7 separate regions of the Homo sapiens genome follow, and regions 1, 2, 3, 5, 6 and 7 are each linked to region 4. The links are contacts of gene promoters, found by promoter capture Hi-C in blood cells and fetal thymus (Javierre and others, 2016). All regions are on one chromosome and are shown on one strand. The core of a region is centred on a gene start or on the middle of the fragment in contact, and the rest is flanking DNA. Distances in the headings are between cores, read along the strand shown. Region 1 overlaps RNF222 (ring finger protein 222). Region 2 holds the start of LOC124900396 (small nucleolar RNA SNORA69). Region 3 has its middle 9.7 kb from the start of ODF4. Region 4 holds the start of SPDYE4 (speedy/RINGO cell cycle regulator family member E4). Region 5 overlaps KRABD2 (KRAB domain containing 2). Region 6 holds the start of ARHGEF15 (Rho guanine nucleotide exchange factor 15). Region 7 has its middle 2.2 kb from the start of NDEL1.

Region 1 (3,364 bases), core at 125-2,624, 360 kb after region 4:
ATACTCCTTTCAAAAAAATATCTTTTTCAAGAAAACTTATAAATGTCCACTAGGCTCTAAAGTTTTATAAGAACTTCCTTGGCCACTACTTATCCCCAATATGTAAGTCAGTACCTAGCACATAGCAGGTGCTCAATAAATATGTGTCGAATAATTAGACAGATGGATGGATGGATAGAAGGATGGAACTCTTGCCATCATACACTCTGGGGAGTTATGAAATGCAGGGAAACATATTAATAGTTGATTGGCTTAAGAAAATCATGCCCATCCTGATTATAATGGCTGTTTGGTATAAACATTTGCAAATGTGTTATGAAATAACTACCAAGAAAGATTGGAATAACCATTTAAATTATTATCCATTGCCCATCACTTATCTTATCCATTGTCATCTTGTTCCGTTATTCTAATTTGAGGTGAGCTGCCCTCTGTCAAGTGGGTGCGATTTTTTAATCATCCACATACTAAGGAACATTTGGGGATGAGAGGGAAGGAAAGGAAGGCAAATGCTGTGGCTGCCTCAAGAGCTGTGACAGGGGTCTCCAAGTCCCCTTTGGGAGAAGAGGGGACAGGACATGGTCTGTCTTAATAATGACAACTGCCATTTACTGAGCACTTACTCTGAGCCAGACTCTTCACTCACATTAGCTCACTTAATTCCCCCAACAACTCTCCGAGGAAGATGATACCATTATTATCAATTTCATCTTATGGACAGGAAACTGAGACTCAGAGAGGTTAAACAACTTGGCTAAGCTTATACAGACAGTAATGGGTAGATCAAAGATTTGAACCCCCATCCCCCATCCTGGGGGCCACATTGACCATCTCAAAGACCAAAGCTAGAAACTCCCAAAGAGGTTTGGGGGCCTCCTCCAGGATCCCAGATTCCTTATCCCACCTCCAAATATTTTTGCTCTTTGACTATGGGACATTTTCAACTCGGCAAAATAGATTTGGAGCCAAGCCAAGAGAGGGAGGGATTCTGAAAGATTTGTGATCTTAACAGTTGTCCTTCCTACACATTGATTTTGTTCCCACTATGTCATCTCTCAGGTCTGGGGGCTGCCATGCAACTCTATTTTATCAGTGTGTCCAGGGGTCTTTTGTCTCTGTCATGGATGGAAGAAAGCAGCAATAACAAGGAATCATGGTTCTTTTTAAAGAAGCTGTTCCAGATAAGTTTAGGCTACACAGTTGTGACACTGGGAACTTTTCAGTGCGGACACTTGGACCTCACCACACACCCCAGTGGATGTTTCCCTTCAAAGCCATCGACTTGGGAAGCCATGTAGTTAATCAAACAAATCTGCTCTCAGATTCTGTTTAAAACCCATCTTGTGGCCAGCGCCTTGGCTTGCGTCTGTAATCCCAGCACTTTGGGAGGCCAGCCGAGGCGGGCGGATCACCGGAGGTCAGGAGTTCAAGACCAGCCTGGCCAACATGGTGAAACTCTGTCTCTACTAAAATTACAAAAATTAGCCATGGGTGGTGGCATGCACCTGTAATGCCAGCTATTTGGGAGGCTGAGACAGGAGAATCTCTTGAACCCAGGAGGTGGAAGTTGCAGTGAGCTGAGGTTGCGCCACTGCACTCCTGACTGGGCGACAGAGCAAAACTCCCTCTCAAAAAAAAAAAAAAAAACAAACCATCTTGTTACTTTATATATCTTGTTACTTTATATCTTGCTACTCCATAGCTTTGATTTCAAACAATATCATGCCACTTGATCACTCATTTACTTTCCTATCAGACTTGGCTACCAGTGACTTCTGGGCATTTCCAAAGTATCAGACATATTCTCAAAGGATGAAATTCTGTCTCCATCACGGTTAATCAGATGCTTCTCTCACTGCCTCAGGCAGCCCCATAAGAAGAATTTGGAGAATGACTGAGCTGTGGCAGGTGAGGGAATGAACCTAAAGCTCCCTGACGTGACTATGTGGAGGGCCAGCAGGCATTTGAATGTGTAAGTTCTAAGCTTTGTTTTTTTAAACAGTCATTGCTTTATAGCCACACTTAGCACAGAGGAATGCAATCCAATGGCTGGAGGAAATCCAATGGACCCGCCAACCCCAGGTGAGGGCAGAGGTTGAGACTAGCACGGGCTTTTCTGGAAAATGGCCACTCTGGGTGCAGGTCCAAATTGGAGACTGGACTGGGGCTGTGCATGCATCTTCTTAGCCACCTGCTTCCCCTGGTAACAGGGACTTCCTTTCTTCACTTCCGTCACTGAAGCAGGAAGAGGTGAGGCAGTGACCTCACCATGTGTGTACATGATGATTGAGGTGAGACATCAGGAACTCCACACACCTCCTCCTGGGGTCCAGTGTGACTGGGTTCTCTGGTTCTCTGTCTCCCGATTCTCCCTTCCAGAAGCATCTGCTCCTCTCCTCCTAAGGGTCTGGGTTCTAGGTTTGAGTCAGGTGGGCCATAGAGGAGGAGCAGCAGAAGAGCCAAGAGTAGGAGGAAGAGAGAGGAGGCAGAAGACAGGGAGAGGGGATAAGGGGCAGTGGAGGCAGAGGTGTAGGTGGGAGTTAGGACGGGGGAGGGAAAGAGGAAATGCCCCAATATTCACAACCCTTCCCGTCCACAGCTGAGCGTGCCATCTCCCAGTGGCCATGTCAGAAGGGGAGAGCAAGGACAGCTCGGGCAGTGAGTGCCCCGTGTGCTATGAGAAGTTCCGGGACCTGGAGGGCGCCAGCCGGACGCTGAGCTGTGGCCATGTGTTCTGCCATGACTGCCTGGTCAAGTACCTGCTGTCCACCCGCGTGGATGGGCAGGTCCAGAGGACCCTGGTCTGCCCCATCTGCCGCTACGTCACATTCCTCAGCAAGAAGAGCTCCCGCTGGCCCTCCATGCTGGACAAGAGCTCCCAGACGCTGGCTGTGCCCGTGGGCCTGCCCTCCGTGCCCCCACTGGACAGCCTGGGCCACACAAACCCCCTGGCCGCCTCCTCCCCTGCCTGGAGGCCACCTCCAGGCCAGGCCAGGCCGCCAGGCAGCCCGGGCCAGAGCGCCCAGCTCCCCCTGGACCTGCTGCCCAGCCTGCCCCGGGAGTCACAGATCTTTGTCATCAGCCGCCACGGGATGCCCCTGGGGGAGCAGGACAGCGTGCTGCCCCGCCGCAGCCTGGCAGAGCTCTCGGAGGCCTCCCTGGCGCCCCGCTCCGCCCGCGCCTTCTGCTGCCGATCGCGGGCCCTGCTGCTCATCACGCTCATCGCTGTGGTGGCCGTGGTGGCCGCCATCCTGCCCTGGGTGCTGCTGGTGAGGAAGCAGGCGTGAGCCGCACCTCAGGGAGGCCGCCGGGCTAGCCGTGGCCTGGGGTGGGACAGGAGGCCCACGGCAGCCCTGGTGCCACC
Region 2 (3,727 bases), core at 769-3,268, 430 kb after region 4:
AGCACTGTAATTCCAGCTTGCTTTTCACTCTGACATTCTAAATGCCCAATCTAGTCTTTTTTTTTTTTTTTTTTTTTTTTGAGACAGCGTTTCACTCTTGTTGCCCAGGCTGGAGTGCAGTGGTGCCATGTTGCCTCACTGCAAACTCCGCCTCCCGGGTTCAAGCGATTCTCCTGCCTCAGCCTCCCAAGGAGCTGGGATTGCAGGCATGTGCCACCACACCAAACTAATTTTTGTATTTTTAGTAGAGACGGGATTTCACCATACTGGTCAGGCTGGTCTCGAACTCCTGACCTCAAGTGATCCACCCGCCTCGGCCTCCCAAAGTGCTGGGATTACAGGCGTGAGCCACCGCGCCCGGCCTGGTCTCGTCTTAAATAAAATGGCAAGCCATGATGAGGACCAAATTGAAGCAACTTTGGCGAAGTTACCTATTGTAACAAGCAGGCCGACTTGAGGTGGACCTGCCCACCTCAGATTTGCATCCTACCATTTGGGAATTCATTGCGTGATCCACAGAGTCTGAACAGGAAGGCACACAGGAGAGGAAGAGCTGCCAGTGAGATAAATGGCCTCTCTGGAATAGCTAAGAGTACAATTGTATTGTGGATTATCTGAATCAGTTAGGACTCTGTAGCTAATAAAAGAAAGGAGATTCAAACTGGTTTAAGGGATAAAGGGAATTTAATGACCTATAGAACTGAAAAATCCAGGCTGGTCTCAGTGGCTCGTGCCTGTAATCCCAGCACTTTGTAAGGCCCAGGCGGGCAGATCGCCTGAGGTCAGGAGTTTGAGACCAGCCTGGCCAACATGGTGAAACTTCATTTCTACTAAAAATACAAAAATTAGTGGGGCATGATCGCAGGCGCCTGCAATCCCAGCTACTCAGGAGGCTGAGACAACAGAATCACTTGAACCCAGGAGGCAGAGGTTGCAGTGAGCCAAGATCATGCCATTGCACTCCAGCCTGGGTGACAGAGTGTGACTCCATCTAAAAAAAAAAAAAAAAAAAAAAAATTAGCTGGGCATGGTGGCGCATGCCTGTAGTCCCAGCTACTAGAGAGGCTGAAGTATGAGAATAGCTTGAACCTAGGAGGCAGAGGGTTGCAGTGGGCCGAGATCGTGCCACTTCCTTCCAGCCTGGGCAACAGTGCGAGATCCTGCCTCAAACAAACAAACAAACAAAAATAACTGAAAAATCAAGATAAAAGCTTCAGATGAGACTTGATCCTGGAACTCAAGTGATGATAACAAGGACCTGGCTTTCCCCTTGTCTCTCCATTTCCAGTTTTGTGGTGTTGGCTCCTTCATCAGGCTGTATCCAGTGGCCTCCCCAGCAACTCCAAGCTGCCTCTCACTGCACTAAAATGGCAGCCACTGATCCAAACCTTATATCCTCACACTGCAATGTCCAGGGGAAGAGAGAATGGCTCATTCAAGTGGCTCTTGGGTGGGTCTCGAATTAACTGTCTCTGAACTCATTGATCCAAATTGGGACACATACCCATCTCGACCCAATCACAATAACCAAGGGTTGTCGTAAATCAAGGAAGAGTAGCTGGGCGCAGTGCCTCCCCTGTAATCCCAGCACTTTGGGAGGTCGATGGGGGTAGATCATGAGGTCAAGGGTTCAAAACCAGCCTGGCCATATGGTGAAGCCCCGTCTCTACTAAAAATATAAAAAATTAGCCGAGTGTGGTGGCGCACGCCTGTAGTCCCAGCTACTCGGGAGGCTGAGGCAGGAGAATCGCTTGAACCCAGGAGGCGAAGGTTGCGGTGAGCCGAGGTCACGCCACTGCACTCTAGACTGGGTGACAGTGTGAGACTCCGTCTAAAACAAAAACAACAACAACAACTCAGGGTCACTTTCAAATCCAATTTTTAGTCAATATTTTGTATTCTTTATTGTTAAGGTTCCCCAAAAGTCTGGATTCAATCCCAACGCTTTCTCACAGAGGGCAGCTTCAGGTTTCTAACAGTGGACGGAGTGAGAGAGGCTTCGGGTCAGCGGTGGTTGTGAGGCAGTTTGGGCGCAGCCCACGGCTTCATGCCCCGCGGCGGGGGCACGTGCAGGCACCAGCTTGAAAAACTCCATCGGGCGTGGAGCTGACCCATTCGGGTCCGAAGCCAAACCTAGTCGGATCAAGCAGCTGAACGCAGGCCCCGGGACCTGGTGACTGCCGTTGCGACCTCGAGAGTGCTGCGGGTGGGTGGGAAGGAGGAGTGGCTAGCTCTGGGGACGTCGGGCAGTGTTCTGAACAGCGGGAGCCAGTGCCTCAACTTCCCCAGGATTCTTCCGCGGGAGCAGCCCACTCCCATACTCCGCCCCGCGTGGGAGGCGAGCGCTGAGAACCAGGAGACACAGCCAGGCCAGGAGACCCCAGAGTCCAGCCAGAAGACGTGCTGAGACCCCGCTGCAGGAAGCCCTATGGCCGCGCTGCGCTCACTCACTGAGTCCGGGTCTCCGGCAGAGAGACAGGGGCAGCCCCGCGGGAGGGGCGGGCGCGGGGCCAGAGCGGGGCCTGGCCACGTCCGGGAGGATGAACGGAGCCCCGCTAAGGTCGGGAGGACTTCGAGGAGCTCCAGCGCTCTGTTCCCCTTGGTGTCGCCCGAGGCTGATGGAGGGTGGTGAGACCGTGGCTTGGAGACGACGTGCTGGGGAGCAAGGTCGGGAGCCCGCCAGGCTCGCGGTGGAGCTGTCGCTGGAGAGGCACTGCTGCACCGGGACGGTGGGCTGGTGGGCTGGCCACCCTGGAGAACCTGAGCCTGCAGTTACCTCTGTAGCTGAACCTGCGAGTATGGAGGGTTTAGGAAAGAGAAGCTTTCCGAGATGGCTGGAGAGCCAGCCAGGCTGAAGGGCTCCGGAAAGGATCACAGGAAGTGGGCTGGAGGGTTCCTTGCGGGTGGAAGGAGGAGGAGAGAGCTAGTGAGCAGGCTTGGGGGCCGGGGCGTGGGGGGAAGAGGGCGAGGCTCCTCTCTTTCCTCTGTTGCTTGTGGGCATGATTGCAACCCCCACCCCCGTTTATCTGCGATGTTGGCCACTAAGATCTTGACCCGGAGCCCACAGAAGGCCAGCTCAAAGAGAGGCCCGTGCCCTTTACTATCTGCCTTATCTTGTAGGAAAAGAAAAACTTTTTATCTGAGGGGGGCAAGGCTTTTAAAATTATCAGGCCCATAGAGAGGATCGCTTGAGCCCAGGAGTTCCAGACCAGCCTGGGCAACATGGCAAAACGCCGTCTCTACAAAAAATACAGAAATTAGTCGGGTGTGTTGGCTCCTGCCTGTGGTCCCAGCTACTCAGGAAGCTGAGGCAGGAGGATCGCTTGAGCCCAGGAGCTCGAGGCTGCAGTGAGCCAAGATCGTGCCACTGCACTCCCGCCTGGGTGACAAAGCCAAATCTTGTGACAAAAAAAAAAAAAAAAATCAGGGCCAGAGAGGAATTAAAATGAGACAACAGTGACATCCCATTACCCCCTTTGAGCTAGGTATTCACCTCTTTAACTGCTTGCATTGGCTTGCTCTTGCCATAAGTAGCTATGAATTAACCTGGTAATGCCACACTGGACACTATAACCCACCCCCTATAGCTTAACAGTATATAGCCAATCACTAATCAAAGAGCTTCCTTTAAACCAATGAGAATTCCTAACAACTTTGTATCAGCCCACAGCCCACTCCCTGTCCCCCTTTTTTGCCTTTGAAAACCTGCTTGTAACAAAGCCCTAAT
Region 3 (3,673 bases), core at 371-2,870, 410 kb after region 4:
TCTAAAAAAAAATTATAGTAATAAAATTTAAAGATCAGAATTTATAAAAACATCTGGATTGGCGGCATCTTTTGAAAAAATCAGAAGCTCTAGCAAATATTCTATTTAAGGTTTTTGGTTGTATACAACAGAAATCAACCCTGGTTAACTTAAGCAGAAAAGGAAGGATATGAAATAACTTACAGAAAGCTGAAGAACAGGCTTAGAGGAGTAAGAACCAAGGGAGGCTAAGCAGCCAGAGCTACAACCCTAGTCATGCCACATGAGTTTTCTGGGAGAAAAACCCTGTGCTGTCCCCCCTAGACAATGGCCCTGTCACCTCTGCTGCAGGATGCAGGATCCTGCATGGACTACAGTGATTCCAATATTCCCTTAATTCTTTGCACTTAATGAAAAGGATACAAAGTCGCAGGTGAACAATCTTTTTTTTTTTGAGATGGAGTTTTGCTCTTGTTGCCCAGGCTGGAGTGCAACGGCACAATCTTGGCTCACTGCAACCTCCCCCTCCCAGATTCAAGTGATTCTCCTGCCTCAGCCTCCCGAGTAGCTGGGATTACAGGCATGCATGACCACGCCCGGCTAATTTTGTATTTTTAGTAGAGACAGGGTTTCTCCATGTTGGTCAGGCTGGTCTCGAACTTCCAACCTCAAGTGATCCGCCCACCTCGGCCTCCCAAAGTGTTGGGATTACAGGCATGAGCCACCGTGCCCTGCCGCAGGTGAATAATCTTAGTCATACGTTGGCACTCTGACTGCCTGAGAGCGGTCCCAGGTGTGTCTTCCCCTCCTGCACCTTCTATAATTGGAAGCGACTCCACTTCCCACTTATGTTGACATTCTCCCCAAATAGGAAAACCATATGAATGCTGAGCAGCTCCATATGACAAATGTTCCTCACAGCAATAACCCATGGAGCTGAGTTGCACCTTCCCCTGTTACATAAGGCAGTTTTCCGGGATATCCCAATCCCACTTGTCTCCCAAAATTAAAATGAAATTCCAGTTGCCATTTCTAATTATGCCCTCCTATTGTAAGATATTTTTTATACCAAAATGTAATGGTAATAAAATATGTCCACAGGCCAGGCGTGGTGGCTCATGCTTGTAATCTCAGCACTTTGGGAGGCCAAGGCGGGTGGATCACTTGAGGTCGGGAGTTCAAGACCAACCTGGCCAACATTGTGAAACCCTGTCTCTACTAAAAATACAAAAATTAGCCAAGCATGGCAGTGGGCACTTGCAGTCCCAGCTACTTGGGAGGCTGAAGCAGAAAAATTGCTGGAACCCATGAGGTCGAGGTTGCAGTGAGCCAAGATCACACCATCGCACTCCAGCCTGGGCGACAAGAGAGAAACTCCGTCTCAACAGAAAAAAAAAAAAAGAAGAAGAAGGAAATCCTGTCATTTACAACAAGATGGATGAACCTGGATGGCATTATGTTAAGTGAAATAAACCAGGCACAGAAAGACAAATACTGCATGATCTCACTTACATGTAGAATCTAATTTAGTCAAACACATAGAAGCAAAGAGTATTATGGTGTTTGCCAGGGGCTGGGGGAGGATGTGACTGAGGAGATATTGGTCAAAGACTATAAGATTGCCGGGTGTGGTGGCTCATGCCTGTAATCCCAACACTTTGGGAGGCTGAGGTGGGTGGATCACCTGAGGTCAGAGGTTCAAGACCAGCCTGACCAAGATGGTGAAACCCCGTCTCTACTAAAAATACAAAAAATCAGCCGGGCATGGAGGCACACACCTGTAATCCCAGCTACTCGGGAGGCTGAGGCAGGAGAATCGCTTGAACCCAGGAGGCAGAGATTGCAGTGACCTAAGATCTCACCATTGCACTCCAGCCTGGGCAATGAAAGTGAAACTCGGTCTCAAAAAAAAAAAAAAAATGCCGGACGCGGTGGCTCACACCTGTAATCCCAGCACTTTGGGAGGCCGAGGCAGGTGGATCATGAGGTCAGGAGATCGAGACTATCCTGGTGAACACGGTGAAACCCCGTCTCTACTAAAAACACAAAAAAATTAGCCAGGCGTGGTGGTGGGCACCTGTAGTCCCAGCTACTCGGGAGGCTGAGGCAGGAGAATGGCGTGAGGTTGCAGTGAGCCGAGATCGCGCCACTGCACTCCAGCCTGGGAGACAGCGAGACTCCATCTCAAAAAAAAAAAAAAAAAAAAAAAAACTATAAGATTTTAATTAGGAGGAATGAGTTCAAGAGACCTATTGTACAACATGGTGACTATAGTCAATAACAATGTATTGCATTTTGAAAAACGTTGAGATAGTAGGTTTTAAGTGTTCTCACCACAAAAAATAGTATGTGAGGGAATGCATACATTAATTAGTTCAACTCAGCCATTCCACAATGTAAACCTATTTCAAAACATCATGTTGTATATGATAAAATAATTTTTAAAAGTTTTTTAAAATTTTTTAAATAATTTTGACAAATTATTCAGCTAAGCTGCTTTTACATTCCTGGCCTTCAGATATGATGTGAGATAATAAATATTTATTATTTTAAGCCACTAAATGTGGGGTAATTTGTTATCCAGCAATAAATAGCTAATACACCAGATCTTTATCAAAAGGGAAAAATTATATACAGACTGTGAGAGTGGCCCCCTTTATTTATGTTACCCACCTAGCCCCTGTATGCATTTGAGTTTGTGACCCCTACAAAATCACTAAGTCAGTTTCTCTAATTACATTATACATACGTGTGTTTGTACCTAAGGCAGAGACCATGACATTCCTTTATTTGGTGTCCCTTCCTCCAGGATGACTAGTTCAGTAAGTCCCCTAGTAAATCCTTGTTCGCTACTGGGGAGAGGATTAAAGTGGGATACAGAGTAGAGATTTGTGGAATATCTGTTGTGCCTAATTTTCAAGCCCTTGTATTATGTTCCTTGCTCAGAATCTTTCCTTTGTTAGGAATCTTTCCTGGGTTAGGAATGCTACAATTGCTGATCAGGTGTGGTAAGAACAAGAATCTCAGACAGGGCTCATATTAAATAGAAGTCAGCTGGGCGTGGTGGCTCACACCTGTAATCCCAGCACTTTGGAGGCTGAGGCGGGCCGATCACCTGAGGCGGGCAGATCAGGATTCAAGACTAGCCAGACCAACATGGAGAAACCCCGTCTCTGCTAAAAATACAAAATTAGCCGGCATGGTGGTGCATGCCTGTAATCCCAGCTACTAGGGAGGCTGAGGCAGGAGAATCGCTTGAACCTGGGAGGCAGAGGTTGCGGTGAGCCAAGATGGTACCATTGCACTCTAGCCTGGGCAACAAGAGCATAACTCCGTCTCAATAAATAAATAAATAAATAAATAAATAAAGTCGATCATATACATTAGGTTGAACCATATAAAATTGCCACATTTAACTACTAACACAACATATATGGTTCAATCTGCAGTGGCGCGATCACGGCTCACTGCAACCTCCATCTTCCAGGTTCAAGCGATTCTCATGCCTCAGCCACCCAGGTAGCTGAGACTACAGGCATGCACCACCACACCCGGCTAATTTTTGTATCTTTAGTAGAGACGGAGTTTCACCATGTTGGCCAGGCTGGTCTCGAACTCCTGACCTCAAGTGATCCGCCCACCTAGTTTTCCCAAAGTGCTGGGATTACAGGCATGAGCCACCTCACGCGGCCCA
Region 4 (3,400 bases), core at 521-3,020:
ATTCTCCAGCCTTGGCCTCCCAAAGTGTAGGGATGACAGGCAGGAGCCACCATGCCAGCCAATAAAGCCCTTCTGTTTCACTCTAATGATATCTTTGGTGCATAGCTACAGCCATTGTTGTATTAACCTGCATCACTGAAGGAAAAGAGAAGGGGAGAAGTGATAGTTTTGCTTTTCCCTGAACATATCAGATGAAACCTGAACTGTTTAGCTCATTTTTGGACAATGTATTGACATAATTTAAGATGGCTGCCTTATTGTAGCCTGTCTACAGAAGGTGCCTAGAAGACAGAGGAATATGTAAAACTGGCTTGAAGAGTGATTAATCAGAACTTTACGTGGTACAGAAGAGAAATTTTAATGGCAACAGAATATTGATCTTCTAATGTTTGAAAGCCTATTAAATAGGAGAGAAAGATGATTTTCTGTTTTGTTGTAAAAGGATCCAACCAGTTCTGATGGTTGAAAGCATCGTGAATGCGAAGGTCCACTCAATGTAAGCAGAGTTTCCTAACAATTGGACTTCCACAGCGACGGGATCTGCCTCCTCATTCAGTTGTGCCTTTCCCATCAGCGAGAGACTCCTAGGAGCCCATTAGGAAGCTGTGCCAGAACTCACAGGTTCTTTGGATGGTATCTGAGATAGTATCCAGCTCTTACATTTTTATTTTTTCCGAAAAAAATATTTTTGAGACTGAGTCTCACTCTGTCCTCCAGGCTGGTGTGCAGTGGTGCAATCATAGCTCACTGCAGCCTCAAACACTTGGGCTGAAGCAATCCTCCTGCCTCAGCCTCCCAAGTACTGGGACCACAGGTGTGTGCCACGATTCCTGATTACTTTGTTTATATTTTGTAGAGATGACGTTTTGCTATGTTGCCCAGACTAATCTTGAACTCCTAACCTCAAGTGACGCCCTGCCTTGGCCTCCCAAAGGAGGGAGATTATGAGCAGGAGCCCCTGGGCCTGGCTGAGATTTTCCCCTTAGTCTTTTTATACACAGGATATTTTATTCATAAAATACATAAATAGTAGGCAAATTTTGGGGTCAAGTGAAATAGATATGTTGTAATAGTTGATATATAGACCAGAGTTCCTTAGCTGAACTGGAGGGCAGGCTTTAGGTGATCCATGGATGCCCTGAACTTGTGGACACCATTGAAAATCTGTACGAAACCATGGACAGTCTCCTGTGATTTTCATTCCTCAAAATGTCTCTTGGACTCAAAGATGCCTGAGAGCAAAGGATGCATGTTCCCCTACTATAGGATCCAGGATAGTGAATATCAGTAAACATTCAGCAAAAAAGCTTTGCCACATTGAGTACTTCGACGTAACGTCTCCATTCAACAAGTCAATTTACCCAGGATCTCCTGTATATGTTAATCTCACTCTTGGAAGGACTCATCATTCTGCTTACCCTAAATTTCCTTCCACCTTCCTCCCTCTCTCACCAGACTAGACTCTGAAATGGGAAGGAGAAGCGGGGAGGAGAGCCCAACACCCCCTCAAGTTTAGAGTGGAGAGGACACAGCCTCTGCTGGGACAGGGAAAAGAGGAATGTGGAGACCCTGAGGATGCTTTTGGACAATGCTCAGAGGTTGGGACATTGCCAGGAGATACCGTTCACCCCGGATCTCCAAGAAAAGAGATCAGTCTGGCAGTTACATGTGTTTTTCTTCAAAGTAGTTGCCAGTTTGGAATGACCGATGACATCAGAGATTCCGACTTTCCTGATTGGAAGGACCGGACTCTGGTTGCTTGGGAGTTCAGGTGGACAACAGCAACTTCTCAGAACTACTCTTCACTCCTAACTTCTCCCGAGCCTCTAGAAGAGAAACGCACTCTTCTGGGTCCTAACGGAGTCTGGAAGAAGGCTTTGGACAGAACAGGGACTAGGTTTTGTGGACAGAAACAAAGTGTTTGGGAGAGATTATGGCCAGTGGTCAAGCGCGCCCCCCGTTTGAGGAGGAGAGCCCCCAGCCTAGCACAACGGTACGGTCCCCCGAGGTGGTGGTGGATGATGAAGTGCCAGGACCATCAGGTGAGGTGACTGGAGGGAGAAGCGATGGGAGATGATTGACTGAGGAGAGGGAAGGGGGCCAGTTACTGGGAATCTGAAGCACCTGAGTAGGGTGTGTGGGAAAGAAACGACGGACTCAGGAAGCCAGGGATCGGGGAAGGAGGGTGCAGGGAATGGGGCCAAGCATGGCCACGTGTAAAGAAAGTCTGGGGAGCAATGAAGGGGGTCAGGAGATGTGCTCAAAAGATGAGAGAGGAAGGCCGAGGCGGACGGATCACGAGGTCAGAAGATCGAGACCATCCTGGTTAACACGATGAAACCCTGTCTCTACCAAAAATACAAAAGTGAGTTGGGCATGGTGGTGCGTGCCTGTAGTCCCAGCTACTCAAGAGGCTGAGGCAGGAGAATCATTTGAACCCAGGAGGCGGAGGTTGCAGTGAACCAAGATTGTGCCACTGCACTCCGGTCTGGGCAACAAGAGGGAGACTCCATCTCAAAAAAAAAAAAAAGAGAGAGAGAGAGAGAGAGCAGACAGAGCTCAAGGGAAGGTTTCCATTTTTCTCCAATTGAAAGTTCTTATCTGTGATGAGGAAATGTTTTGAGGACAGAGAGCCGGAAGAATGGGGAGGTGAGGGAGAGGCAGATGGGGATCAGCAAAGGAGAAAGGTGGAAACATGGCTTGGAGAAGCTGACAGTCTGCGAGGCTTGGGAGGATGGAAGAGTAGTTTGAGGTTCCTGGGTCGGGGCGTCTAAGGTGATCAATGGCAGAAACATGACACCATGGCCTGGTTTCTTCACTCAGCCCCTTGGATAGATCCCAGCCCCCAGCCTCAATCCCTTGGCCTGAAAAGGAAGAGCGAATGGTCAGACGAATCCGAGGAGGAGCTGGAGGAGGAGCTGGAGTTGGAGCGCGCCCCTGAGCCCGAGGACACCTGGGTGGTGGAGACGCTGTGTGGGCTCAAGATGAAGCTGAAGCGAAAGCGAGCATCCTCCGTGCTCCCTGAGCACCACGAGGCCTTCAACAGGCTCCTTGGTAGGAGGATACCCCAAAAAGCACCTCCAACCCTGTTCTTTTAAAAAAGTGGAATCTTTCAATAATCACACTTTCCCAATAAGAAGAATATGCCCTCCTGGGGGATGAGCGCTCCATGCAGGAGGAGGATGCTTAGGAGATAGAGGATTAGGCTAGTCTTAATAAAGGTCTGCACTTGAAATAAGAAAGCTTGGTTTCTGGCCAGGTGCAGTGGCTCATGCCTGAGATCTTGGTGCTTTGGGAGGCTGAGGCGGGAGGATCTCTTGAACTCAGGAGTTTGAAGTTGCAATGAGCTATGATTGCACCACTGCACTCCAGCCTGGTTGACAAGGAAAGACCCTGTCAT
Region 5 (3,560 bases), core at 224-2,723, 380 kb after region 4:
ATACAAAAAATTAGCTGGGCCTGGTGGCAGGTGCCTGTAGTCCCGGCCACTCGGGAGGCTGAGGCAGGAGAATGGCGTGAACCCGGGAGGCGGAGCTGGCAGTGAGCCGGGATCGCGCCACTGCACTCCAGCCTGGATGACAGAGCAAAACTCTGTCTCAAAAAAGAAAGAAATCGAGATTTATGTGAAATCTCCCAATCTGTAAATATAGGTGAAACATTGAATTTTTTTTTTTTTTTTTTTTTTTTTTTGTGACAGAGTCTGGCTCTGTCGCCCAGGCTGGAGTGCGGAGGCACGATCTCGGCTCACTGCAAGCTCCACCTCCCGGGTTCATGTCATCCTCCTGCCTCAGCCTCCTGGGACTACAGGCGCTCGCCACCATGCCCAGCTAATTTTTTGTATTTTTGGTAGAGACGGGGTTTCCTCGTGTTAGCCAGGATGGTCTCGATCTCCTGACCTTGTAATCCGCCCACCTCCGCCTCCTAAAGTGCTGGGGTTACAGGTGTGAGCCCCCACGCCCGGCCGAATCATTCAATTTTTTTTTTTTTTTTTTTTTTTTTAGTATTTATTGATCATTCTTGGGTGTTTCTCAGAGAGGGGGATTTGGCACGGTCATAGGACAATAGTGGAGGGAAGGTCAGCAGATAAACATGTGAACAAGGGTCTCTGGTTTTCCTAGGCAGAGGACCCTGCGGCCTTCCGCAGTGTTTGTGTCCCTGGGTACTTGAGATTAGGGAGTGGTGATGACTCTTAGCGAGCATGCTGCCTTCAAGCATCTGTTTAACAAAGCACATCTTGCACTGCCCTTAATCCATTTAACCCTGAGTGGACACAGCACATGTTTCAGAGAGCACGGGGTTGGGGGTAAGGTTATAGATTAATAGCATCCCAAGGCAGAAGAATTTTTCTTAGTATAGAACAAAATGGAGTCTCCTATGTCTACTTCTTTCTACACAGACACAGTAACAATCTGATTTCTCTTTCTTTTCCCCACATTTCCCCCTTTTCTATTCGACACAACCGCCATCGTCACCATGGCCCGTCCTCAATGAGCTGTTGGGTACACCTCCCAGACGGGGTGGCGGCCCGGCAGAGGGGCCCCTCACTTCCCAGACGGGGCGGCCGGCCGGGCGGGGGCTGCCCCCCACCTCCCTCCCGGACGGGGCGGCTGGCCAGGCAGGGGCTGCCCCCCACCTCCTGGATGGGGCGGCTGCAGGGTGGAGATGCTCCTCACTTCCCAGACGGGGCGGCTGCCGGGCGGAGGGGCTCCTCACTTCTCAGACGGGGCGGCTGGGCAGAGACGCTCCTCACCTCCCAGACGGGGTGGCGGTCGGGCAGAGACACTCCTCAGTTCCCAGACGGGGTCACGGCCGGGCAGAGGCGATCCTCACATCCCAGACGGGGCGGCGGGGCAGAGGCGCTCCCCACATCTCAGACGATGGGCGGCTGGGCAGAGACCCTCCTCACTTCCCAGACGGGATGGCGGCCGGGAAGAGGCTCCTCACTTCCCAGACTGGGCGGCCGGGCACAGGGGCTCCTCACATCCCAGACGATGGGCGGCCAGGCAGAGACGCTCCTCACTTCCCAGACGGGGTGGCAGCCGGGCAGAGGCTACAATCTCGGCACTTTGGGAGGCCAAGGCAGGCAGCTGGGAGGTGGAGGTTGTAGGGAGCCGAGATCACGCCACTGCACTCCAGCCTGGGCAACATTGAGCACTGAGTGAGCGAGACTCCATCTGCAATCCCGGCACCTCGGGAGGCCGAGGCAGGCAGACCACTCGCGGTCAGGAGCTGGAGACCAGCCCGGCCAACACGGCGAAACCCCATCTCCACCAAAAAATACAAAAACCAGTCAGGCATGGCGGCGCCTGTGGGCAATCCCAGGCACTCGGCAGGCTGAGGCAGGAGAATCAGGCAGGGAGGTTGCAGTGAGCCGAGATGGCGGCAGTACAGTCCAGCCTCGGCTTGGCATCAGAGGGAGACCGTGGAGAGAGAGGGAGAGGGAGACCGTGGAGACGGAGACGGAGACGGAGACGGAGAGAGGGAGAGAGGGAGAGGGAGACCGTGGAGACGGAGATGGAGAGAGGAAGAGGGAGACAAATTTTTTTAAAATCACTAGATGGACCAACCAAAATAGGTCTATTAGATAATTGTAGACCCTGGACTCTACTGTAGAATTTCATGGTATAGTAAGGACTGTACCTCTACTAAAGACTGAGATTCTACATCTTTTGATTATAAATTGTTTCTAGCCTGTTGCCTTCATTCTTTTTTTTCTTTTTTTTATTTTTAGAGACAGGGTCTCACTATGTTGACTAGGTTGGTCTTGAACTCCTGGCCTCAAGCAATCCTCTCACCTTGGCCTACCAAAGTGTTAGGATTACAGGCATGAGCCACCATGCCCAGTTGCCTTCATTATTTTATAGAATGAAGATGAGGCTTTTCCTTCCTTTGCGGTCCCCTGAAGGGACTCAAATAACAACCAACACAGCACTCAGGTTCTGAGAGACGCTGGTTTCAGAAAGGAATCTGGAAGGTGCTTTTTCTGGATTCCATTGAATACCTTGTGGTTTCAAGTCTGTTAGAACTAGTAGGACCGGCTGGGTGTGCTGGCTCACACCTGTAATTCCAACACTTTGGGAGGCCAAAACGAGCAGATCACTTGAGGCTAGAAGTTCGAGGACCAGCCTGGCCAGCATGGCAAAACCTCACTTTGGGAGGCTGAGGCAGGTGGATCACTAGAGCCCAGGAGTTCGAGACCGGCCTGGGTTTTTTGCAACATGGCAAAACCCCATCTCTATAAAAAAATACAAAAAAAGAAAAAGAATGAAAATGCATATTTTTCACATTTTAAATTTTGGATGTGTCTTATCAATACATTCATTTAATACACACTGTTTTTCCTCTCAAAAGAAAGTTGTTATTAAGTTAGTGATTTACAATCAGTAATGTCTTAGAATCAGGAATATTCATGATTAACTAGCAATGCTGAGGAAGGGAGTTTGAAGCCCTTTTAGTGAAGGACCTTCCGGACCTGGAAGCAGGCCCCACTTAACTGAGACTCTTGCTCAGAGCCTTTAAAAGTTTCCATCTTTCTCTGCTTCTCAGGATTCTGCCCTGCCCCTCCGCTCTGCATCTGACAGCTGGGATCTCGGGATCCTGTTTTCCTAAGCTTGCTGGAATTCCTGCAGTCCTCATGTGAACTCCCCTGGCCTCATCACCATCCTGTCTTACGGCTGTTCTGACTAAGGAATCCCAGTTTAGACAACTGAGTATCAAGTTCTCTCCCTAAGGAATTATCTGATCACAGTGGCAGGTAGACTCCATTTGGGGTATCTCTTTTCTGCAGGATAATCTCCTGACATATCTTTATGTACACAGATATAATATTTCCATTGGAAACAGATCCTGCCACCCCTGTTAGGAGTCATCAAGCCTGCGCCCAAGTTCACTTGGACTCTGCTTTATTCTGGAAAGATTAATAAATGGGCTACAGCTCTGGCAGCGTCAAAACTGGCCAGACCAACAGACCTCCCAGGAAAGCAAAACTCCTTTCCCTCA
Region 6 (3,552 bases), core at 337-2,836, 450 kb after region 4:
CTGAACCGTGTGTCCGTGGAGTGTGTTGTGGAGGTTTGTGTGTGGTTTGTGTAGGGGGTGGCATGGTGTGTTGTGAGTGTGCGAGTTCTGTGCTTGCCGGGTGGGTGTGCAGGGGGAGAGTGGAGCATACGGTGTGTGGTGTGTGGCCCTTTAGGAAGTTCTCGGTGTGAGTGTCTGAGATAGCGGTGCCAGGGTGGGTGTGCCATGTGTGTTCTGCGCTGTCTGGGTCTGGGTGCCGTGGGCGCGCCTGTCCGCCGGGCCTGGGCTGCGAGGCGTGCATCACTGTTTCCCTGCTCCACTGGCCCTCCGCCCCCCATTTCCCAGTTCCTCTCTCCGGACTCTCCCTTTCCGGATTATTTTTAGTCTCCTTTTCCTGCCATCAAGATTCTTGGAGCCTCTGACCCCCGGAGATGAGGAGGTCCTGGCGAGGTCTCTCCTGTCCTGCGTCTGATCATCCCCGCCTGCCCTAGGGTCTGGTCACAGAGAGAGGCCCAGCACAGCCATGGGTCTTGCCAAGAGGCCTGGGGAGGTGGCTGGGAGAATGAACCGAAGGACAGGACCAGTCGGGCCAGGGCGCTGCGGCCTGGGTTTCTCTTCCTCCCTCGAGGAAGGAGGCTACAATCCCAAGAAGGCTGCAGGGTCAGGGCTGGGAAGCAGAGGAACCCCCAAACTCCCTTCAGGGGTCAGCAGGAGAGTCAGACCCCTCCAGGCCTCGGACTGGCTCCTTGAGAAATGATGAGGGGGGAACAAGGGGGTTGTAGATGATGGGTCTTGCAGCTCAGTGGCCTCTGTGTTCTGGCAGAAAGTCATTTAGCAAAGTGACCCACACGGTAGTCTTGACCACTGGCCAACTCCTCCCCAGCCCCTGCCCCTCAGGGATCCCACCCCCTCTCGGGTACCTGCATTTACTTCCTTCCCTACCCCACCCTTAGGAACCCAGGTACTCGGGCCCCAAGCACTCACCCTTGAATCCCCTCCACTCTCAGTCACCTCCCAGGGCTGAGTGAGTAGGGGCAGGAAACAGGAATCAGATCCGCCTCCCAACCGGACACCCCCCCCTCACGAACCACACCACTCTCCACATGCGCACATCACACAGGGCCCCAGGAGACAGAGGTATCCAGGGTCTCAGAGGTTAAAGGGGTCTGGGGAAAAGCTGAAATTCAGGCTTGGAAAGTGTGTGCGCAGGTTCTACCTGCACAGCTGTGTGGATCGGGGCTCATAGGGGTGAGGTGGACAGGGGTAGGGATGAGGACAAGACGGCAATGGCACAGAGCCTGGCTGAGCAGCATGGGTGTCTGGATGCCTCTGTCTCAGCTAAGGGATGCTGCGTGCGTCCCTCCACGGCGAGTCTCACCATCTTTCCCCGACTTGCACCACCACCTGTCTCCTGAGCCGGGTGTGAGCCAACGCCTATTTCACACCCAGGGACCCTCCCGCAGGCTTCCCTCCCTAACTCTGCAGTAGGTCCCCATGAATTTACCTTTATCTTTTTGGAACCAGTTGCTATTTTCAGCCTGTCCTGTCTGCCCCTTGGAGCGAGGAATGCAGGGCTGAGGTTTCCAAGTGTGTGTTCCTGTGATTCTGGGGTGGGAACTCAGGGCCCAGATTGAGATCTCTGCGGAGGAAGCCAGTTCCTCAGCCCCACCCAGCCATTGTGTCTGGCGTGTGTGTGTGTGTGTGTGTGTGTGTGTGTGTGTGTGTGTGTGTTAGAGGAGAGAGAAAAGGGGAGGGCCAGGAGGTAGGACTGAAGAGAGAAGTGTGGACTTGGGGTCTGTCTCCTCCAGGGAGGTATAACATTTGCAGGGGCCCAGGCGTGGTTGCTCATCCTTATAATCCCAGCACTCCAGCACTTTGGGAGGGCAAGGTGGGAGGACCAGCCTCGGCAACATAGTGTGACCCTGTCTCTACAAAAGATTTTTAAAAAATTAGCCGTGGACAGGCCGGGCGAGGTGGCTCACATCTGTAATCCCAGCACTTAGGGGGGCCGAGGCAGGCGGATCACCTGAGGTCAGGAGTTCGAGACCAGCCTGACTAACATAGTGAAACCCCGTTTCTATTAAAAATACAAAAAATTAGCCAAGCATGGTGGCACACGCCTGTAATCCCAGCTAGTCGGGAGGCTGAGGCAGGAGAATTGCTTGAACCCAGGAGGCAGAGGTTGCAGTGAGCCGAGATCGCGCCATTGCACTTCAGCTTGGCCAACAAGAGCGAAATTCCATCTCAAAAGAAAAAAAAAAGCCATAATGGCACACATCTGTGGTCCCAGCTACTCAGGAGGCTGAGGTGGGAAGATTACTTGAGCCCAGGAGTTGGACACTACAGTGAGCCGTGATCGCACCACTGCCCTCCAGCCTGGGCAACAGAGCAATATGCTGTCTGAAAACAATAAAAAATGTGCAGAGGTCGGGCGCAGTGGCTCATGCCTGTAATCCCAGCACTTTGGGAGGCCGAGGCAGGAGGATCACCTGAGGTCAGGAGTTTGAGACCAGCCTGGCCAACATGGTGAAACCCTGTCTCTACTAAAAATACAAAAAAATTAGCCGGGTGTGGTGGCGCACGCCTGTACTACCACCTACTCGGGAGGGTGAAGCAGGAGAATCACTTGAACCCAGGAGGTGGAGGTTGCAATGAGCCAAGATCCTGCCACTGCACTCCAGCCTAGGCAACAGAGCAAGACTCCATCTCAAAAAAAATAAAAATAAAAAATGTCCCAGGAGCCGTGGCTCACGCCTATAATCCTAGCAGATTGGGAGGCCAAGGAGGGTGGATCATCTGAGGCCAGAAGTTTGAGACCAGCCTGGCCAACATGGTGAAACCCCATCTCTACTAAAAAAAAAAAATACAAAAATTAGCTGGGCATGGTGGCGGGCACCTGTAATCCCAGCTGCTCTGGAGGCTGAGGAGAGAGAATCACTTGAACCCAGGAGGTGGCAGTTGCAGTGAGCTGAGATCGTGCCATTGCACTCCAGCCTGGGCAACAAGAGTGAAACTCCATCTCAAAAAAAAAAAAAAAATTAGCCGGGCATGGTGGCACTCGCCTGTAATCCCAGCTACTCAGGAGTCTGAGGCACAAGAATCACTTGAGCCCAGGAGGCGGAGGTTGCAGTGAGCTGAGATCGTGCCATTGCACTCCAGCCTGGGCAACAAGAGTGAAACTCCATCTCAAAAAAAAAAAAAAAATTAGCCAGGCATGGTGGCACTCCCCTGTAATCCCAGAAGAGACTTAATTTTCCAAACAATAAGCCCCAATAAAAACAGCATGAAGCCAATTAAATTTTTTCCAAAAAAAAATTTTTTTTTTGAGACGGAGTCTTGCTCTGTTGCCTAGGCTGGAGTGCAGTGGTGCGATCTCTGCTCACTGCAACCTCCGCCTCCTAGGTTCAAGTGATTCTTCTACCTCAGTCTCCCGAATAGCTGGGATTACAGGCATCTGCCACCATGCCCGGCTAATTTTTTGTATTTTTTAGTAGAGGCAGGGTTTCCCCATGTTGGCCAGGCTGGTCTCGAACTCCTGACCTCGTGATATGCCCGACTCGGCCTCCCAAAGTG
Region 7 (3,840 bases), core at 1,340-3,839, 330 kb after region 4:
GTGTCCATGTGTCTGTGTTCCCGTTTATAAAATGAATCTCGGCTCATAGTTCACCTCCGAGTCCATTCCCCCTGCTCGAACACCCAATGGAACATCAGGAGCATTCTAAGCATCACTCTCACAAAGCTCTGTGTTGTTTTTACAGAACTTCCACTGTTTACATTTTGTATTTGTTCTCATCTTCCTCCAGTAGAATTCTAAGTTCTATGAGAGCTAGAACCTCTTATGCCTTGCTCATCCCAACAGATAACTTGGTTCTAGGCAAAGTGGACGCTCAAATATTTGATGAATGAATGAATGGATTCGTTGGCACAAAGGGGATTTTATATTTGCCCATTTATATATTGTATATATCTGAGCATATATTCATTTTTGTATACATGCGTGTACGTGTGTGTATGGGTGTGACTTTCTCCCCTCCAGGTCCCCCAAGAAATGGAGTCCTATGTGTATATATATACCTCTTACAATCCATCTTGGTTTTTGTTTGTTTGTTTGTTTGTTTGTTTTTGAGACGGAGTTTCGCTCTTGTTGCCCAGGCTGGAGTGCAGTGGCGCGATCTCGGCTCACTGCAACCTCCGCCTCCCAGGTTTAAGCAATTCTCCTGCCTCAGCCTCCCTAGTAGCTGGGATTACAGGCGCCTGCCACCACGCCCGACTAATTTTTGTATTTTTAGTAGAGACGGGGTTTCACCATGTTGGCCAGGCTGGTCTCGAACTCCTGACCTCGTGATCCGCCCGCCTCGGCCTCCCAAAGTGCTGGGATTACAGGCGTGAGACACAGCGCCCGGCCCCATCTTGCATTATTAATGTTTATATATTTTTAGTACGTAAACACACACGTGTATGTGTGTGTGCGCGCGTGTGTATTCCCTAGCGGACTTGGAAGCAAGCTGGAGACGATACTAGCCCAAAAAGGAGGGAAAGAGGGATAGGCAACTTACATAGGGAGTGGAAACTTAAAGGAAGAGATACATTTTAAAAACAATTTTAAGAACTTTTGCTGTATAATGTACAAGGTAATCCTTTCCTTTAGGAGATGGGGTCTACTGTGTTGCCCAGGCTGGTCAAGAACTCCTGACTTCGGCCAGGCGCTGCAGCACTTTGGGAAGCCGAGGCGGGCAAATCACCTGAGGCCAGGACTTCGAGACCAGCCTGGCCAACATGGTGAAACCCTGTCTCTACTAAAAGTACAAAAATTAGCCAGGCATGATGGTGGGCACCTGTAATCCTAGCTACTCCGGAGGCTGAGGCAGGAGAATCGCTCGAACCCGGGAGGCGGAGGTTGCAGTGAGCACCACTGCACTCTAACCTGGGCGACAGAGTGAGACTCCGTCTAAAAACAAACAAAACAAAACAAAAAAGAACTCCTGACTTCAGGCAATCTTCCCACCTCAGCCCCCCACAAAGTCCTGGGATTACAGGCACCAGCCTCCATGCGGCACGCAATGTAATCCTTTCCAATTTCAGTGCTTTTAGGATTGGATTTGTGGGTGTGAACACAAAAATAATGTGTAAGACATGCCTCAAGGTGAAAACAAAGTGAGCCTAGGAGGCCCAGTTTATATTTTTGAGGGCGATGGACATAAACAGGAACAATGCAAGATGGATTGTAAGAGGTACCCAAATCAATAAAGATCAGAGAAGGGATTAATGGGGTTTGTGGGAAAGGTAACATATTACATATGCCTATTATGAATAATATTATGAATAATATGCATATTATGAAAAAACTATGCATGGATTTCCAATTTTTTTTTTGCACAGGGCCAAGCATGGTGGCCCATACCTGTAATCCCAGCACTCTGGGAAGCTGAGGTAGACAGATCACTTGAGCCCAGAAGTTCGAGACCAGCCTGGGCAGCACAGTGAGACACCTGTCTCTAAAAAAATAAAATAAATGTTTGCACCAAAATAAATTTGTTCTAACTTGCTATAACATGTCTGAACAGGATCTAGCTTGAAGCACCAAGAAAGATAAGAAATCAGTTTGAAGAGAGTCCCTATCAGAACACATATTCTACAAAATTGAAGCAATACAAAATACTAAATTTATGGTGAAGCCTGGGTGGAAAAATGGTGGAATCATTGACGCTTTATAAAAGTGTAAAAGGACAAAGCCCCAAAAGAAGTCAGCAGTTTACAAATGGATAATTCATTTTAAGAAGAAACATGATGATGTTGAAGATGAAGCCCACAGCAGCAGACCCTCCACATCAATTTGTGAGGAAAAAAAGTAATCTTGTTCATGTGCTAATTGAAAAGGATCAATGATTAACAGCAGAAACAATAGCCAGCACCACAGATATCTCAACAGATTTGGCCTACACAATCCTTACTGAAAAATTAAAGTTGAGCTAACTTTCCACCCAATGGGTGGCAAAACCATTGTGCCCAGGTCAGCTGCTGACAAGAACAGAGCTTTCAAAATTTCACACATTTTAAACAAGTGGGATCAAGATCCTGAAGCTTTTTTTTTTTTTGAAGAATTGTAACCAAGAATGAAACTTCGCTTTACCAGTACAATCCTGAAGACAAAGCGGTGGCTACCAAGAGATGGAAGTAGTCCAGTCAAAGCAAAGTGAACCAGTCAAGAGCAAAAATCATGGCAACCATTTTGTGGGTTGTTCTAGGCATTTTGCTTTCTGGAGGGCTAAAGAATAATAACGTACTTATTACGAGAGTGTTTTGAGAAGATTAGCCAAAGCTTTAGTGGAAAAATGCCCAGGAAACCTTCATCAGAGAGACCTTTCCACCATGATAAAGTTCCTGCTCATTTCTCTCATCAAACAAGGGCAATTTTGCAAGAGTTTCAGTGGAAAATCAGTAGACATCACCTTACAGTCCCAATTTGGCTCCCTCTGAAGACTTTTTGTTTCCTAATCTTAAAAAATCTTTAGGCCAGGCGCAGTGGCTCATGCCTGTAATCCCAGCACTTTGGGAAGCCGAGGCAGGCGGATCACGAGGTCAGGAGATCGAGACCATCCTGGCTAACACGGTGAAAACCCGTCTCTACTAAAAATCCAAAAAATTAGCTGGGTGTAGTGGTGGACGCCTGTAGTCCCAGCTACTTGGGAGGCTGAGGCAGGAGAATGGCATGAACCCGGGAGGCGGAGCTTGCAGTGAGCCGAGATCGCGCCACTACACTCCAGCCTGGGCAACAGAGCGAGACTCTGTCTCAAAAAATATATATATATTGGCCTGCCATTAAATATATATATATTTATATTTATATTTATATATAATATATATATTTATATATAAATATATATATATATCTCTTTAAAGGGTAGCCATTTTTCTTCAGTTAATAATGTAAAAAAGACTGCATTAACATGCTTAAAATCCCCAGATCCTCAATTCTTTAGGGATGTACTAAATAAATGGCTGATATCATGGTTACGAAAGTATCCTGACCTTGGCTGGGCACAGTGGCTCACACCTGTAATCTCAGCACTTTGGGAGACCTGGGGCGGGTAGATCACTTGAGGCCAGGAGTCCAAGACTAGCCTGGCCAACATGGTGAAACCCCGTCTCTACTAAAAATATAGAAAAATTAGCTGAATGTGATGGCATGTGCCTGTAATCCCAGCTACTCAGGTGGGTGAAGCTTGAGAACCGCTTGAACCTGGGAGGTGGAAGTTGCAGTGAGCCAAGATCATGCCACTGGGTGACAGAGCAAGCCTGTTTCAAAAAAAAAAAAAAAGGTGTCTTGACCTTGAGGGAGCTTACGTTGAGAAATAAAGTTTATATCTTTTAATTTTATCTTTTAATTCCATTTTTCTATGAACTTTCCGAAGTTCTCTTGTATGCACTGGCAACTGTGCTAAACACTTGGTCT

Evidence for each region. The method cuts DNA at HindIII sites, captures the fragments that hold promoters and counts their contacts. A CHiCAGO score of 5 or more calls a contact.
Region 1: a fragment that was not itself captured here is called in contact with the fragment with the promoter of SPDYE4 in region 4 in 16 of 17 cell types (megakaryocytes, endothelial precursors, activated CD4 T cells and 13 more); the score reaches 14.8 in megakaryocytes.
Region 2: a fragment that was not itself captured here is called in contact with the fragment with the promoter of SPDYE4 in region 4 in 2 of 17 cell types (monocytes and neutrophils); the score reaches 6.5 in monocytes.
Region 3: a fragment that was not itself captured here is called in contact with the fragment with the promoter of SPDYE4 in region 4 in 1 of 17 cell types (naive CD4 T cells); the score reaches 5.3 in naive CD4 T cells.
Region 5: a fragment that was not itself captured here is called in contact with the fragment with the promoter of SPDYE4 in region 4 in 1 of 17 cell types (naive CD8 T cells); the score reaches 5.5 in naive CD8 T cells.
Region 6: the fragment with the promoter of ARHGEF15 here is called in contact with the fragment with the promoter of SPDYE4 in region 4 in 13 of 17 cell types (neutrophils, naive B cells, naive CD8 T cells and 10 more); the score reaches 14.9 in neutrophils.
Region 7: a contact is called between a fragment that was not itself captured here and the fragment with the promoter of SPDYE4 in region 4, in 2 of 17 cell types (total CD8 T cells and total CD4 T cells). The highest score is 7.0, in total CD8 T cells.

Annotation. Positions count from the first base shown.
Region 1 is chr17:8,392,722-8,396,085 of GRCh38, reverse strand. RNF222 (ring finger protein 222) reads left to right here. Exons shown (of 3, transcript NM_001146684.3): 2 at 1,757-1,908; 3 at 2,600-3,364. The coding sequence starts at 2,625. The coding sequence ends at 3,287. Among named protein-coding and RNA genes, the nearest start is that of RNF222, 3.4 kb to the left of the region's middle. The HindIII fragment of the contact is 1,225 bases long and covers 762-1,986 here.
Region 2 is chr17:8,325,880-8,329,606 of GRCh38, reverse strand. It overlaps LOC124900396 (small nucleolar RNA SNORA69), which reads right to left and starts at 24; the gene lies at 1-24. The HindIII fragment of the contact is 1,610 bases long and covers 1,214-2,823 here.
Region 3 is chr17:8,347,732-8,351,404 of GRCh38, reverse strand. No RefSeq gene overlaps it. Among named protein-coding and RNA genes, the nearest start is that of ODF4, 9.7 kb to the right of the region's middle. The HindIII fragment of the contact is 9,727 bases long and covers 1-3,673 here.
Region 4 is chr17:8,756,916-8,760,315 of GRCh38, reverse strand. It overlaps SPDYE4 (speedy/RINGO cell cycle regulator family member E4), which reads left to right and starts at 1,770. Exons shown (of 7, transcript NM_001394956.1): 1 at 1,770-2,042; 2 at 2,824-3,054. The coding sequence starts at 1,934. The HindIII fragment of the contact is 1,936 bases long and covers 1,310-3,245 here.
Region 5 is chr17:8,371,629-8,375,188 of GRCh38, reverse strand. The region is part of intron 1 of KRABD2 (KRAB domain containing 2); the gene reads left to right. Among named protein-coding and RNA genes, the nearest start is that of KRABD2, 3.3 kb to the left of the region's middle. The HindIII fragment of the contact is 3,400 bases long and covers 1-3,173 here.
Region 6 is chr17:8,308,275-8,311,826 of GRCh38, reverse strand. ARHGEF15 (Rho guanine nucleotide exchange factor 15) reads right to left here and starts at 1,586. Exons shown (of 16, transcript NM_173728.4): 1 at 1,484-1,586. RefSeq lists an enhancer at 1,092-1,592. The HindIII fragment of the contact is 11,022 bases long and covers 1-3,552 here.
Region 7 is chr17:8,431,742-8,435,581 of GRCh38, reverse strand. It overlaps a transcript of NDEL1 not described here. Among named protein-coding and RNA genes, the nearest start is that of NDEL1, 2.2 kb to the left of the region's middle. The HindIII fragment of the contact is 238 bases long and covers 2,471-2,708 here.